2 separate regions of the Homo sapiens genome follow, and region 2 is linked to region 1. Evidence: promoter capture Hi-C in human tissues and cell types (Jung and others, 2019). All regions are on one chromosome and are shown on one strand. Each heading gives the region's core, a stretch centred on a gene start or on the middle of the fragment in contact. The rest is flanking DNA. Distances are from core to core; before and after follow the strand shown. Region 1 holds the start of ALDH1A3 (aldehyde dehydrogenase 1 family member A3). Region 2 overlaps LOC105371024 (a long non-coding RNA gene).

Evidence for each region. The method cuts DNA at HindIII sites, captures the fragments that hold promoters and counts their contacts. A contact is called where the count stands out against the background at its distance.
Region 2: a fragment that was not itself captured here is called in contact with the fragment with the promoter of ALDH1A3 in region 1 in 4 of the 25 tissues and cell types used here (IMR-90 fibroblasts, bladder, lymphoblastoid cells and 1 more).

Annotation. Positions count from the first base shown.
Region 1 is chr15:100,878,340-100,881,647 of GRCh38, forward strand. ALDH1A3 (aldehyde dehydrogenase 1 family member A3) reads left to right here and starts at 1,492. Exons shown (of 13, transcript NM_000693.4): 1 at 1,492-1,667. The coding sequence starts at 1,569. LOC124903575 (collagen alpha-1(I) chain-like) reads right to left here and starts at 1,464. Exons shown (of 1, transcript XM_047433433.1): 1 at 607-1,464. The coding sequence starts at 1,464. The coding sequence ends at 682. RefSeq lists a silencer at 1,413-1,532 and an enhancer at 2,024-2,538. The HindIII fragment of the contact is 10,500 bases long and covers 1-2,676 here.
Region 2 is chr15:100,761,717-100,765,024 of GRCh38, forward strand. The region is part of intron 2 of LOC105371024 (a long non-coding RNA gene); the gene reads left to right. Among named protein-coding and RNA genes, the nearest start is that of GCAWKR, 86 kb to the right of the region's middle. RefSeq lists an enhancer at 3,106-3,308. The HindIII fragment of the contact is 4,110 bases long and covers 1-3,308 here.

The sequences.
Region 1 (3,308 bases), core at 242-2,741:
CAGCCAAGAGGGCAGGGAGCCCCGGATTTGCAGAAGCAGCTGAGGAAAGAGCTGGCATTGCTCAGACTCGCCAGTGTTAGCCAGCCGATATCGGTCAAGGCTGCCCCGCTCGAGGGTCCATTATCCCCTTTCCCCGGCCTCAGCTGTGCACTCCAGGCCATAACAGCACAAGACCTTTCCACAACCCCAGGGTAAGGGTCAGATGTGGGGTTTCCAAAAGCTTCAAAACTTACCCCTCTATCCAGCTCTATCCAGAAGGACACCAGGGGACAGAGAGATGGACACGGAGGCCTCAAAACAGGAAAATAAGGAGACCCCTCCCCATTGTTGATTACTTGGGGTTACCTACAGAAAGAGATGAACTGAAGGGGCTGAGCCTATCTGAGGATTAAAGCACAGCTTTTGTCAGGAGTCCGTGCCTCCGGTCTTTGTTCCAGCGACCTGAGGAATGGCATGCATCAGAAGCCGCTTCCGTGTCTCAGATGGGGCCTGGGTCAAGTCCTGGGAGTTGATGGAGCGTTTCCCAAATCGCAAAAGGAGAGGAGCTAGACTTACCTCCCCCTCCTGGGAAGTAATGCGCGACAAGAATTTAAACTCTTAAAACGATTAGCAGCAAAGGTCTCATGTGCTTTTTTTTAATTATCATTTTTTAATCGAGGTATAATTTATGCATTTAAAAAATCAGATCAATTGCCCCCCGGGCTCTGGGATGGAAGGCGGTGTGCGCCTGCGAAGGTCAGAGGCCCAGCGGCGCCAGGGCTCCTCGGCGGAGAGCCGCCCGGGTCCGGCGCTTTGCTTTCGCCTTCTGCCCCACCGCGGGCGAAGCCCCAGGGCCCCGGGGAGACTCCAGGCCGGCTGGGCCGGGGTGCGCCCGCCGGCTGTCCGCGCTCGGGCAGGGTGGGGCGCAGCGGGCGTCTGTCCTGCTAGCGGGGATCGGGCGGCTGGACCCAAGAGCAGGGCACGTGCGCAGCGACGCGGGGCGGCCCCGCCAGGAGCCCCGACCCGGGCGCGGCGCAGGGCCCGGCGGAGAGCGCGCATTCCCGAGCGCCGCGAGCCGGCCGAAGTCGGGCGAGCGCGCCGTGCGGCGGCTGGGAGTGGGCTGCATGTGCCGCGCGGGGAGCCCGCCCGACTTCGGGGAGGCAGCGGGGCGCCGTGGCCCCGCGGCTCAGCTCCCTGCCGGGTCGGGTGTCCCAGCCCTGCGACTTCCGGGGCCCGGCGGCTCCTCGGGGAGCTCGTCCACAGGCAGCCTCCGGGGCGAGAGAGCGCGCGGCGCGGGCGCCGGGACGGTCCGCGGCACGCGGGTGGAGCCGCCGGCGCTCGGGCTCCCGCAGGGGCGGCGGGCGGGGCGGGGTGAGGCGGGCCGGCCGCCCTCCCCTCTCCTCCCTCCCGCAGCCCGCCCTCCCTTCCTCCGGTCCCGCAGCCAATTAGGCGGCCCCCTCGGGCGGGAGGCGTGGGGCGCTGCATAAAGCGGCGGGGAGCTGCCACCCCGGGAGCGGGCTGCGCAGTGTCCGGGCCGAGCCGGTGCGCCGCAGACTAGGGCGCCTCGGGCCAGGGAGCGCGGAGGAGCCATGGCCACCGCTAACGGGGCCGTGGAAAACGGGCAGCCGGACAGGAAGCCGCCGGCCCTGCCGCGCCCCATCCGCAACCTGGAGGTCAAGTTCACCAAGGTGAGGCGGGCGCCCCTCCCACCCGACGGCCGCGGGCCCCTGCGCTGGGCAGCCAGACTCGGGGCGGCGGGGGCGAGGGAGCAGCGGGCCGGGGGTCCGCCGGGCGCCGCCGAGACCCGAGCCTCCCTGCCCGGGCGCGGCTCTCCAGAAACCGCACCTTTCGCGGGACGTCTCGGGCGGGATCGCAGGCGGCGGGGCTCGGCGCTGTGAGCCTCGAAGCCGGGAAACCGAGGCCGTCCAGCGCCCGCGCGGGGCCGGGCCGCCCGCATCCCTGCGAGGCCCCGACGTGTCCCTGCGCTGCCCGCTTTGATCGCGAGTGGAGGTGCGCGCCGCGTTGACTCGGAGCGCGCTGGTTTTGGGGAGCTCCCTCCCCAAAAACCCCTGCGATGATTTCCAGGGTGGACGAGTCTGGCTTTGAGAGGGTCGGAGGGTCCGAGAGCGCCAAGAGAGAGTCCGGGAGGCAGATGGCGGAGCTGCAGTTGGAAGACTGGGGAAGCGGGTCCTCCGAGCAAAGCGCAGCGGGCGCCTTCCGTGCTTAGTTTATACCCGGCTCAGCAGCAGAACGAGGAGGAGTAGGAAGGTGCTCGCTTACTGACGAAACCTCCCCGGAGCCCAGAGGTCCCGGTGTTTACACACAAGGCGCGCGCTCCGGAAGGTCGCAGACCTGGGCCTTTGGGAAGCGGTGGGTCGCGAGGCCGCAGAAGCGCACGGTTCTCTGCCTCCTCGCTCTGTGGGCTGGGAGGCTACAGCGTTGGCAGAACGGCGAGATTACCTGCCCGGGGCAGAAAGGAATAAAAGAAGATGGTGAGGCCTCCGAGGCCTCTGAGCTGGGGCTGAGGAGGGCCGAGAGACCCGGGTCCGGGAGCGCGACCCGATGGAGGACACCCCCAGGCTGTCTGGCGTGCGCGTCTGTCGTGGGCCGGTGCTGGGGCACTTTAGAGGCACAGGCCAGGCCGAGAGCCATTGCCTTAACTTTCCCCACCTTTGGCTTCTCTTGATTTTTGCTTTTACCCATAGCCCCCAACTCCAGCTGACACCGCACTTAGAGAATTTCCTCATCCGTTTTACTTTAAGAAGTAGCAATTATCTTTCTCAAAGAATTTTAATCAAGCGGAGAAAGTTGCAGGGCACTATGTGTGGCCTTCAGATTTGGGTCTCTTGGCACTTAATTCCCAATGTCGGCTGAGCCTCTGATCACAAGACATTTAAATTAACTGTTTTCAGAAGGCTCTGTAATCAACAAAGACACGTCGCTGTAAACTAAACGCTGGAAATTATTCTTAATGTAGTTTTATTTGTAATATCAGCTTCAGAGTGAAAATTCCAACACGAATTCTGGGAAGAGTGAAAATGGTACCCGAATTTTGTAAGACCCTAACCCCAGGTGCTTGGCTGCTGCTACTGATGGTTAAGTGGGGAGGTTGTTTGTTTTCTTTTGGTTGTACAGGATTTCAAAATACTGTATATAGAAACCAGACAGTAAATGTATTATGGTCCTTTTACTTTTTATGTTTTTGAGTCCTATCAGCAATCTGACCACATACAAAAAGTTTACCTCTTTCTCTATGATTTTTAGGACACTTTTAAAGTGTAGATGTAGCCCTTATGGAGACCTTAGACAATTCACAGAGCAATGGTTGC
Region 2 (3,308 bases), core at 532-3,031, 120 kb before region 1:
GTGAGGAGGAAGCAGAGACTCAGAAAGACAAGTGTATTGCTCAGGGTCTCATGATCCAGGCAGGGAGGCTGGCAAAGCCTCCACAGCGTCTGCTGCCTCTTCCGGGTCACCAGCAGCTGGACATGAATAGAGGTGTTATTTACACGGTCCAAAACGTTGGCCAAATCCACTGGGCAGGGTTGCCTTGGTGACCTGTTGTCCCATAGAGTCTGGCATCATTGCCAGAGCCTGCAAAAACAAAGTTAGACTGAGGTTTAGATGGCTTCGTGTGGAAGCTTCCCTGCTCATCCCTACATGTGGCACAGTATCCTGAAAGAGAAGAGCCATTGGAGTCTGTTTCAATTCTTCTCTGGGTTCATTTGGGACACTTGGGAGCAGGTGGAAGGTGCCTTGTCCCTGGCCAGGTGTAAGTCAGATCTCAGCTGTCACCTGTGAGGGCAGCCAGGACGTGGGACGGGCTTGGAGAGGAAGAGAAAGGAATGTGGGGTGATGAGACAAAGGAAGAAGAGGAGAGAGAGAGAGAGAGTGTGTGTTTCATGTGTGTTTCAGAAACAGATTGACAGTGTCAGGAGCTGAAAGAAGATGAGGACCAGTCAGCGCAGGGAGGCGAATTTTGAGAAATACCCAGCGGAGTGCTCTGAGTTGAGGCTTAGAGAAGAGACAAAAGGTTTGCAAAGCAGAGAAAGTCAGGGATTCGAACTGTGGGTGGGTGGCCCTGGGGTAGAGCCAGGGCGCCTGGGTGCAGAAATGTACTCCATGCAAGAACTTTCTGGCGGGCACAGTCGGAGGAGGGGCTGCCTCAGCAGGATGTGTTCCCCACCCCCGGAGGTGGATAAGTTTGCGCATAGTCACAACTTGGCGTGGATTACATGGACCTGGAGCTCAACGAGGTGTCCTTAGTGGGATGGAGTACTGCCTTCAGCAAGACGGCAAGAACAAAGACAAAGAGGATGCTACAGTGAACCTGGAAAGCTCTAGGTGAATCTTTTTATGAGTTTAAAAAATAAGAGTCTGTGTGATGAAAATTACAAGCCACTGATGAAAGAAATCAAGGAAGACCTAACGCATGGAGACACGTCAGGGTTCATGGATTCGAAGGCTCAGCACGACAGATGTCTCTTCTACCCAAACTGACGGCAGTTTTAACACCATTCCTATCAAAATCTCAGCAAGGTTTTTACAGATACAGACAAGCTTATTCTATAATATATATGAAAAAGGAAAGGCCCGAGATAACAATCTCTGACAGAGGAGAATGAAGTAGGAGAAACCACATACCCGGTACTGAGACTTACTACAGAGCTATAGAAACCAAGCGTGGTGCTGGCAGAGGGCAGACACACACATCAGCAGCACCGAATGGAGGCCCAGCGCTTGACACTTCCTGACCTGTGAGTGTTGACCCATCAGATGAGTTCCGGAGTCTCTTCCCCCCCTCTCCTTGCCCTTTATCCCTGGGGAAGTCCAGTGCTGACAGGGAGCTTCCATGCCACCCTGGCATGGGACAGGGGCCATCTAGGTGGCAGGCCAGCCTTCAAACCTCTGCACATCCTCACTGAATGGGGCCCCCACTCCATGTCCTCTACTGCCAACTCTTAGCCATCTCCACCTCGCTCCTAGGAGCCCCAGAAAGCTGTGAGTGCCCCCCAGGCCATTTCAGCTCTGCAGAGGACAAGTGCCACCCCACCTCTGTCCCAGTCTCCTCCAGACCGTGTCTCTCCAGATGGCCACCAGCCAGGCCACAGAGTCTCAGAGGAAAAAGGGGGTCCAAGTTCCTCTGCCTTGGCATCCCTCAACCTACCATGAGGTATCTCTGACCCCTGGAAAGTGGGGTGAGTCATCCCACAGTGCAGGGCCTGATCCTGGGGCCTCTCAGTCAGCAGGAACCCCCCTGTCATCCTATCCCACACTCTTCCCTCCTCTTCTGCAGGAAGTGCCAGATGCCTTTGTCCTCTCAAAGCTATCATCCTTGTGTGTGCTTCTGAGAGCAGGATTGGACTCCATGGGTCGAGGCTTCCCCTGCAGGCCTCACTGGGCTCTTCCGGGTCTCCCTTCCCTGAGACAGTCAGCCCCAGCCTTGAGTCTGGCTGGAAGGGAGGAAGAGCTACAGGCAAAGAGGAATGACTGACAAGGGAGCCTGTGGGGTGGGGGAACGGCTCCTCCAGCTTTAGTCAGCAGCAGCTCCCTCGTGCCTTCCTCCCAAGGGACCTGAGGAGCAGATGACCATCCCGGCTTCCCCGGCAACGGGACAGATGTGAAAAGGCCACCTCTCATATGCCTTCAAGAGGTTGCATCCAGGCAGGCAGTGGGTGCTAGAGGGGTGAACAGGCCTCCCGGCAGGGGAAGAAGTCTGGCTGAAGTCCCCTGGGCAGGAAGAGGAGCTGACAGTAGGCCAGTGGGGCCCAGGCAGCACAAAGTGTGAGGAGAAGCCAGGGGCAGGCAATAGAGCCTTTGTCTTCATTTTGTGGTGTTTTTCATCTCACTCACTGAACTTGAAGTGAGAAGTGGCCGGTGTGGAGGCCTGGCTCGGGCCTTCCCTTCACCCCCAGTTCCTTACAACTCACACTTGACCCATGGGGCCATGGGGGCTTAGACGTGGAGCCCACCTGGGGAGGTGGGCCTTACGGCCCCTCTTTTCTTGCTGATGAGGAAATGGAGGGATGGGGTGCCGAAGTGACCTGGGCAAGGTGGACCCAGCCCTGTGTTCATTCCTCTTTCCTGGTATCAGCTGCCTCATTTCCTTGGGGTGTCAACCCCATCACGATTGTATTCTATCGCGTGGTTCTGCAGCCTTGCGTGGATGCCTCCACTCAGGAGAAGGATGTGAGTGAGGCTGAAATACTCAGCACAGTCCAGCCCGACTGATGTGATTAGTTTGGAGACAAACACGCGGCCTAGTTCACTCGGTAAGCAGCAGCCTCTGGGCTTGTTTGCAGCCGCTGATGTAGCCCAGGAGCTGGTCAAGGGCTGCTCCTTGGAAGGAGCTGCCTGAGAGTGAAGCCAAAAGCCAAAGAAAGCTGAGCTAGAGGATGACAGACAGCTTCCTGGTGACACTGTTAGAGCATCTGGATCCAGCTATACCTGAAGCTACACCTTAAACATTTTAATTACATTCATCAATGTTTCTTTTTGCTTAAGACGGTTTGATTTGTGTTTATATTATTAGAACCTCACAGGCTTGTCTAATCTAGCATCCCCGGGCCGGCCTCCTTTTCCTCCTTCTCCCCTTGGCCAGTATAAAGAATGAAGCTTTCTGGAGCCTGTTCACAGCATGAAGCTCTTCCACTCACCTGCAGCCTGTAATTAGG